Regions from separate parts of the Homo sapiens genome. Here all the other regions are linked to region 2. Evidence: promoter capture Hi-C in 16 types of primary human blood cells and fetal thymus (Javierre and others, 2016). All regions are on one chromosome and are shown on one strand. Each heading gives the region's core, a stretch centred on a gene start or on the middle of the fragment in contact. The rest is flanking DNA. Distances are from core to core; before and after follow the strand shown.

The links. The method cuts DNA at HindIII sites, captures the fragments that hold promoters and counts their contacts. A CHiCAGO score of 5 or more calls a contact.
Region 1: a contact is called between the fragment with the promoter of DHDDS here and the fragment with the promoter of ZNF593 in region 2, in 1 of 17 cell types (M2 macrophages). The highest score is 6.0, in M2 macrophages.
Region 3: a fragment that was not itself captured here is called in contact with the fragment with the promoter of ZNF593 in region 2 in 1 of 17 cell types (erythroblasts); the score reaches 5.9 in erythroblasts.

What each region holds. Positions count from the first base shown.
Region 1 is chr1:26,430,941-26,433,640 of GRCh38, forward strand. It overlaps DHDDS (dehydrodolichyl diphosphate synthase subunit), which reads left to right and starts at 1,381. Exons shown (of 9, transcript NM_205861.3): 1 at 1,381-1,436; 2 at 1,951-2,068. The coding sequence starts at 2,006. LOC124903883 (a long non-coding RNA gene) reads right to left here and starts at 1,297. Exons shown (of 2, transcript XR_007065557.1): 1 at 1,033-1,297; 2 at 1-178. RefSeq lists enhancers at 600-1,136, 921-980, 1,051-1,110, 1,137-1,673, 1,211-1,700. The HindIII fragment of the contact is 8,751 bases long and covers 1-2,700 here.
Region 2 is chr1:26,168,458-26,171,157 of GRCh38, forward strand. It overlaps ZNF593 (zinc finger protein 593), which reads left to right and starts at 1,451. Exons shown (of 3, transcript NM_015871.5): 1 at 1,451-1,726; 2 at 1,961-2,023; 3 at 2,118-2,416. The coding sequence starts at 1,527. The coding sequence ends at 2,259. It overlaps C1orf232 (chromosome 1 open reading frame 230), which reads right to left and starts at 506. Exons shown (of 4, transcript NM_001364669.2): 1 at 1-506. The coding sequence starts at 42. It overlaps ZNF593OS (ZNF593 opposite strand), which reads right to left. Exons shown (of 4, transcript NM_001395468.1): 3 at 2,699-2,700; 4 at 1,064-2,141. RefSeq lists an enhancer at 1,221-1,320. The HindIII fragment of the contact is 4,459 bases long and covers 251-2,700 here.
Region 3 is chr1:25,885,919-25,888,618 of GRCh38, forward strand. It overlaps a transcript of STMN1 not described here and the pseudogene SNRPFP2. Among named protein-coding and RNA genes, the nearest start is that of PAQR7, 12 kb to the left of the region's middle. The HindIII fragment of the contact is 233 bases long and covers 1,232-1,464 here.

The DNA of each region.
Region 1 (2,700 bases), core at 131-2,630, 260 kb after region 2:
GAAACCCTGTCTCTACTAAAAATACAAAAATTAGCCAGGCTTGGTGGCACGCGCCTGTAGTCCCAGCTACTCAGGAGGATGAAGCAGGAGAAACGCTTGAACCCGGGAGGCGGAGGCTGCAGTGAGCCGAGATCGCGCCACTGCACTCCAGCCTGGGCGACATAGCCAGACTCCGTCTCTAAATAAATAAATAAATAAATAAATAAATAAAAATAATACTGGTTGTATAAGAATCTGTAAAGAATTTTTTCCTCCTCTTTCAATTTTGAGAAAATTGAACTACAAATTTGTTTTGTGAGCCTAGAATTCTTGCAACCCTTTTTTTCGTAAAGGTTCAGTAGAGCTAATGCCCTTAACTTTTCTACCAGGGTTAATTTCTGTTATTTTCATTTATGTACTGCCAAAGCGAGCACCTTTCTGTTATTTTAGAAGTCATGCTTTTTTTTTTTTTCTTTTTTCAGACAGAGTTTCGCTCCTGTTGCCCAGGCTGGAGTGCAGTGGCCTGATCTTGGCTCACCGCAACCTCCGCCTCCCGGGTTCAAGCGATTCTCTTGCCTCACCCTCCCGAGTAACTGGGATAACAGGCGCCCGCCACCACGCCCGGCTCATTTTCTGTATTTTTAGTACAGACGGGGTTTCACGATGTTGGTCAGGCTGGTCTCAAACTCCTGACCTCAGGTGATCCGTTCGCCTCGGCCTCCCAAAGTGCTGGGATTACAGGCGTGAGCCACCGCGCCTGGCCTAGAAGTCATTCTTATGGCAGAAATCTTTCTGGCCTTACCCCTTCTCTTGAGTTCGTTGGGATAGGTCTTGGGAATCCACAAATCCTAAAATATGCGTGCCTTAAGTCGGCACAAAATAGATTAATATTCTGCGCGTCTGTAAGATTGGCTGCGGCTAGAAACTCCTTCCCAGACGATTAAATCCACTAAATAAAATACGAAACGGTAACGAGATAATTTTTAAGAGTATGCACCAGTGCTCTAATGAAGCCCGGTTCTGCGGCATTCCAAGGTAAGGACGCTGCCTTACCCAGTCTCTCAGCAGTCCTAAGCTGCCTTCGACGGCCGAGAAGCGCCTCGATTCTTGCCCCTGGCTCATTTCCCTGGCGCGTTTTCCAGACGCCTCCGCTCCCAACGCTGGGCTCAACCCTGTCTTCCCCAGCTGGTCTCCCAGCACGTGGCCTGGAGCCCAGCCTCCCGCCCCGCTCGGTCACGTGAGCCTGGCTCTCACCCGCGCCGGCTTCCACACCCCGCGGGACTGAGAACCGCCCTCCCACTAGCTCGCAGGCGCAGGCGCAGGGCAGGGTCCCCTCAGTTTGGGTGACGGAAGGGGCGTGTCGCAGCGCCCAAAGATGACGTGTTCTGCCAGCGCCACGTCATGAGGAAGTGCCGGCCCACTGAAGCCGTGGGGACGCGCCCAGCGGAGCTAATCAGGTGCCACTGAACTGAAGGGGTGAACTAGAGGAGAAGAGGGTGACTGGGCGGGGAGCAGCTGCGGGAGAAGCAAAGGGACGACTGAGGGAATAATCAGGAGACCACTGAGGCGTGAAGTACTAGGCGTGCGATAACTGAAGGAGTTAGTAACTGGGAGCACAGAGTTGGAAACAGCTTAGGGGAAGATGGAGAAGGAAGAAACGGGGAATGATCAAGATGTGGGCACCATGATGTGGCAGGAAACCGACTTAGATGTTCAGAAGAAGTCAGTGCAGATACGGAGGAAATGGGAATGGGAAGAAGTCTGCAAAGCCAGGAGAACCGAGGAAAGGCTTTTGCCTCCAGAGGTCACATTGCGTTATAAAACTCTGGGTGGTAAAAGATTATAGGCTTAGACCAGTGTCTTTGGATTCTAATGCTGGCTGCTCTCCATAGTCCATCTGATTCCCCAGAAGTCAGTTATAGCTCTTCGCAAACCTTGGTGACTTCTTATTTTCTTTCTTGTTTATCCAAGATTACCTGGCTGGTGTTTGCTTGTTCTGGAGTGATCTTCTGACTGGAAAAGAACTATGTCATGGATCAAGGAAGGAGAGCTGTCACTTTGGGAGCGGTTCTGTGCCAACATCATAAAGGTGAGCAATGGCCCAGAGCACCGGTTGGCCTTCTGGTCAGTTGGATAATCTTATATAAAAACCTGTTATTAAAGTTGATGATGTTAAGTGCAATTCATGATGTTAAGTGGAATTTAGCAAGGAAACCAAAGAGTCTTAGAATGGTAACTTCCAGGTCTACATTTCTGGTAGACTTTTGTCCTAACTCTGATATTTTCTGGAAGCCCAGGCCTCTTAATGTCACTGGGCAGCCTAGACTGCTAAGTATTCTTTATAGAGAACTGAAATTTGTTTCCCTGGAACATTGATCCATTGTTCCATGTACTGTCTTCTTGATTTAAATAGGTTAATCTTTGATATATTCTTTGATCTGTCAGTAGAGCTGGGCCCGGTCACTCACGCCTGTAATCCCAGCAATTTGGGAGGCTGAGGTGGGCAGATTGTTTGAGCTCAGGAGTTGAGACCAGCCTGGGCAACATGGCAAAACCCCGATTCTCCAAAAAATTAAAAAAATAGCAGGGCTTGGTGGTGTGCACCTGTAGTCCCAGCTACTCGGAAGGCTGAAGTGGGAGAATTTCTTGAGCCCAGGTCAAAGCTGCAGTGAGTCATGATTGTGCCACCACACTCCAGCCTGGGTGACAGAACGGGACTGT
Region 2 (2,700 bases), core at 201-2,700:
TAGCACTTTGGACTTGTAGGTTTTCCAGAAGGCCTGGTTCATGGCTGCAGGGGGAAGGGGCCTGGCACGCAAGCACAGGAAGGTGGTGGCTCAGTGGATACCAGTGAGTCTGGCTCTAGGAACTTGGTGAGGCCAAGAGCCTGTCCGAGGGATCCAGTGACTTCATTAAAGATGCACCAGCCTCCCCAGCTGGCACAGTGCCCAGGAGGTGAACCTGATCCAAAGGAGTCGGGGAGTGGGGGATGGAACAAGCTTCTGCCACCTTAGCCCCTTGTCTTGACCCATATTGGCCAAGAATAATGAAGTCATTTGTCTCTAGAGAGGCTTTCTTCCTGGGCCTAGGAGTACTTGAGTTGTTCATCTCTTAGCATGCCTCCAGGAAAATCTTCTTCCATTCACAAAATCCTGAGGTCTGGGACCCACACTGGAGCCCCTGTGACTGTAGTCATACTAGTTGTGTCCTCAGCAGGGCTCCACCCTGTGTCCCTACTTAGCCTCAATGAACTGGAGCAGGAAGGTCCGCAGGCCCCCAGTGGGCACCTTGGGCTTACATTTCACTCCTTTGTCTGGGCTGGAAACTGATTCCTCTCCCCAGGGATACACGTGCCTGTCTCCTTGTTTCCTGGCAACAGACTCCAAAGAGCTGGAGCCCCTGAATTATTGCTAAGCTCCTCTGGCCCCTTCCAGCTGAGTTGGCTCTGGCCAGCCTGGGAGGCACCAGGCTCCTGTGAATGGGGAAAGGCCCTCTAGCCACTCTGAGCATGCAACACCTAGGCCTTTGCTGCCAGCCCACCTCTGGGAGCCCAGGGCTTAGAGAAAGGAGGCAAAGATGGAGAGGTCCTTCTATGAGTACTTGTGAGAGGAACTGATCCCTCTGGAGTCTGGATGCCTGAGGACTGCACTCTCTGGGGAGGAACACCCTTCACGGATTTGGTTGGGGTCAGAGAGAGGATGGAGACTCAAGGGAATAACGGGAGCCCGGAGAAGTGAGGGCTTTTTCAGGGACTGGAGATTATCTCGGGAAGCCCTGGTGGGGCTGGGATTCCAAACTTATTCACTCTCAGTCATTTACTAATTTATTCATGACACAGACATTTATCAGTGCTTTCCAGAGATAAAGCATCCCACCCCCACCGCGGAGTCCAAGGTCTGGGAAACAGGAAGGGATGACAGGAGTACAGGTTGGCACTGATACTGGTTGGACCAGGCCAGGAAGAGCAGGGCAGCAAGACGGCCCCGAAACCCCCAGGCGCACGCACCACCCCGCGCCTCCCCAGCGAGGGCCCGCGGGGCCATGCCCTTCAGTGGGCACACTTCTGGGAGCCCGTCCTGAGCTCGGTCACTGACGTCGACGGCCGCCTGGCGGCGCTCGAGCCGCTGGCCGAGAGTGACGTCATCAGAGGCGGTCCGGCCGAGCCTGCCTAGCCCCCCGGCGTGGCCTGACGTAGCTGATCGGCCCGGAAGTGCTCACACGTGTGCTCCCTGCCCTGCTCCTGGCCCCTTGGCCGGCCGGGCTGTTTCTGGCCATGGGTCGCTCCCGCCGGACAGGCGCGCACCGAGCGCACTCTCTAGCCCGGCAGATGAAGGCGAAGCGGCGGCGGCCGGACTTGGATGAGATTCACCGCGAGCTGCGGCCTCAGGGATCCGCACGACCCCAGCCCGACCCAAACGCCGAGTTCGACCCCGACCTGCCAGGGGGCGGTCTGCACCGCTGTCTGGCCTGCGCGTGAGTCCCGGACGAGCCCGGCCTGGGGCGGAGGAGGGTCCGCGGTACCGGCCGGGAGATGTGAAGTTGAAGCCCCAGGCAGCGCAGAGTCTTCTCTCTTGGGACCCGTGGGTCCGCCCGCCTCCCGTTTCTCAGACCCGGATCCTGGCGTCAGGGACAAGCTAGGGCTAGGGAGATAGGTGCACTTGGGAGACTATCACCTCCTCACTCTCCTTCTCACTTCCATTCCTACAGGAGGTACTTCATCGATTCCACCAACCTGAAGACCCACTTCCGATCCAAAGACCACAAGAAAAGGTATGAAGGAGTAAGGAGAGGATTGATGGATGGGTGCTCAGCAGATAGGGCTCTCACCTGGTCAGCTCCCAACTCCTGTTTTTCTTTCTCCCAGGCTGAAGCAGCTGAGCGTCGAGCCCTACAGTCAGGAAGAGGCGGAGAGGGCAGCGGGTATGGGATCCTATGTGCCCCCCAGGCGGCTGGCAGTGCCCACGGAAGTGTCCACTGAGGTCCCTGAGATGGATACCTCTACCTGACATGGCCTGAAGATGCAGGGCAGAGGAATTGCCCATGGACAGTGACGCAAGGACTAGGCTGGGAGGGAGCGTGCCAACCCCTTTTGCCTCTGGGTTTGGGGAGCGGAGGGCCTCTTCTTGGTGCCCTGCCCCAAATAAAGGAACTGGACAAAGAGAACTTGCCTCCAACTCTAACTTCCAGGCCGCTGTCTCAAACTCCTGCCCTGGAAGGGCTTCTCTACTACTTTCTGTACACCAGGCCTAGGGTGTCTACTCCCCACTTGGTCTATCTCTGCCTTCCCTCTGAGGTCCTAGCATCTGAACTGGAGCACCCAGATGGAGGCCTGATGCAGTGTGGGGTGGCGGGAGTGGGATCAGATTACTCTGTCCTGCTTCTGACAGAGACTGATCCCCAGAAAAGAAGGCTTCTGAGATTGCACCCCCCTCCCGAGTCACCTACCC
Region 3 (2,700 bases), core at 98-2,597, 280 kb before region 2:
GGACAGGAGGTGGAGGGGCCCTTCATCAGGGCTAAAACAGTGGTTCTCAAACTTTGCTACAAATGGAATCATCCAGGGATCTTTAAAAAATACTGACACCTGGCCCCCACCCCCAGACATTCTGATCTTGTTGGTATGGGAAGCAACCTAGGCATCTGGATTTTTAACGAGTAGGAAAGGTCAGGCAGGAACGGGGTGTGGGGAGGAGGTTTGATAGGAAGAGGTGGTGATGACCTAGGCTCTGGAAGCCTAAGGTTCTAAGGCAAGGAGGTCAGGGTACTGGGCTGGTGCAAAGTAGGCATGTGACAAATATGAATTGGAGGACAGTGGGAGGGAAGGGCAGAGGGAAGGAATGGAAGGAAAAAAAGAAAATCCAAAACTCAGGCAGTGCAGCAAGTTTGAGTCTATTCTCCATCATTAGCTTTCTATGTGACCTTGGAAAAATGGCTTCCCCTCTCTGGGCTTCATTTGGAAAAGGAGGAGGTTGGATTTGTTGATGATTAAGATCCTTCTGGCCCCAGATTTCTAGGATGCTTAGGCGGGACTCCTTAGTGGGAGACGAGTGCACCTGCATCCACAGTCCAGCCATGCTCACATGCTGCCATCTCGCCTCTCTCCACCCTCCATGTGCTGCTCCCTTTGTCTGGAACACCCCCACCACTTTTTTTTTTTTTTTTTTTTTTGGTGGGGGATGGAGTCTCACTCTGTTGCCCAGGCTGGAATGCAGTCGTGTGATCTCAGCTCACTGCAACCTCCGCCTCCCAGGTTCAAGAGATTCTCCTGCCTCAGCCTCCTGAGTAGCTGGGACTACAGATGCCTGCCACCACACCTAGCTAATATTTTTGTATTTTGAGGAGAGATGGGGTTTCACCATGGACAGGATCGTTTCGATCTCTTGAACTCGTGATCTGCCTGCCTCGGTCTCCCAAAGTGCTGGGATTACAGGCATGAGCCACCGTGCCTGGCCCCACTGCTTTTATTTATCTGCTCAACTCCTGCTTCTCATCTGGGACTCAGCTCAGGTGTCAACTCCTCCAGGCAGCCCTCGTTGACCGGTCCCCACCACCCTGTTCTGACTTGGATGCCCTTTCCTGTACCAAGGAAAGGTAGGTCCCTCTGATTATCCTACCAGACCCATTATACTGTGACACCTGTTAATTACCTGTTTCCCTCCTGGGTTGTGTGTCTTGTTCTGTGACTTGTCTATATTCCCAGCACTCAGCATAGAGAAAGCTTCTTAAAAAGTGGGATGGAGGAATGAAGGTTGCCAGGCCTTCGTTCAGGTGCCTGGACCACAGGAATGAACAAGAGACATTGTCCCTTTCCAAAGCAAGGAGAAAGGGGAAATCAGGAAGTGGTTTGTTAAACAATGACAAAAAGGGGTACAGGAAAAGGGGCCAAGAGGTTGTCCAGGAGCCTGCAGCATTTGCCCATAGTTACGGTAAGTCTACCCCTCAATCCCGAAGCTTTCCTCAGTGGGTTAACAGGAAAGCCGGTGATGCTGAAACAAAGTGGGGAATGGAGTACAAGGGCTATCTGGCATCTTAGATGGCTACATGAACATGCAGCTTGCAAATAAGAGAAATACATAGGTGGGGAGCTGTCTGGACATCTGGGTGAAGTTTTAATATGGTATAAAAATGTCCTTTATAGTAGAGGTATGGAAGAAAAGGAAGAAAATGGGGGAAGTGAGAGAACAGCATCTTTTCTGGGGGATTTTGAAAATATAGATTTCTAGACAATAAAGATGTGTTTTTTGGGGTTTTTTTGTTTTGTTTTGTTTTTTTGAGATGGAGTCTCGCTCTGTCGCCAGGCTGGACTGTAATGGCGCAATCTTGGCTCACTGTAACCTCCGCCTCCCGAGTTCAAGTGGTTCTCCTGCGTCAGCCTCCTGAGTAGCTGGGACTACAGGCATGTGCCATCATGCCTGGCTAATTTTTGTATTTTTAATAGAGACGGGGTTTCGCCATTTTGGCCAGGATGGTCTCGATCTCTTGACTTCGTGATCCACCCACCTCGGCCTCCCAAAGTGCTGGGATTACAGGCGTGAGCCACCGTGCCCGGCCCTTGTTGTTGTTGTTGTTGTTGTTTTTTAAAGAGGTTGCCCAGGGGTGGGAGGGGGGTCAGTGAATTTCTGGAGTCAGAAAGCCCTGGGTTTAAATCTAGCACAACCGCTGGTTAGCTGTGTGACTAGAGCTGCTTTCTTAACCTTCCTATAACATGGGGATAATCAGAACACCTCCGTCAGAGGTAGAACACAGCACAGTGCTTGGCTCCTAGAAAACACTGAAGAAACATGTTGACTATTTTGATTTGCTAACATCACGAGTGGGTGAGGAGGGCTGTGGGAATAGACATGCCATGCCCGACCACCATCACCTGTTCACACCTCATACCCCACCACCCTTGGGATTAAATGAAATGCAATTGCCCATAAGTCAGGCTGGCTTCTTGATTACAGCAGAATGCAAACTCCTCAAGGGTGAGAATCCTTGCTTTATTTGCTGCTAAATTCTCGGCACCTGGGATAGTGCTGGTGCATAGTAGGTCCTCAATAAATATTTCTTGAATGAATAAACGACTGAACTCTGGGTTGACTAGCTCAGTGTATGGGGTAACCTCATCCTCCTTCCCTAGACCCACGTCCCTCCTCCAAAAATCTTGAACTCAACATGACTCCATCAGCTATGACTTCATTCA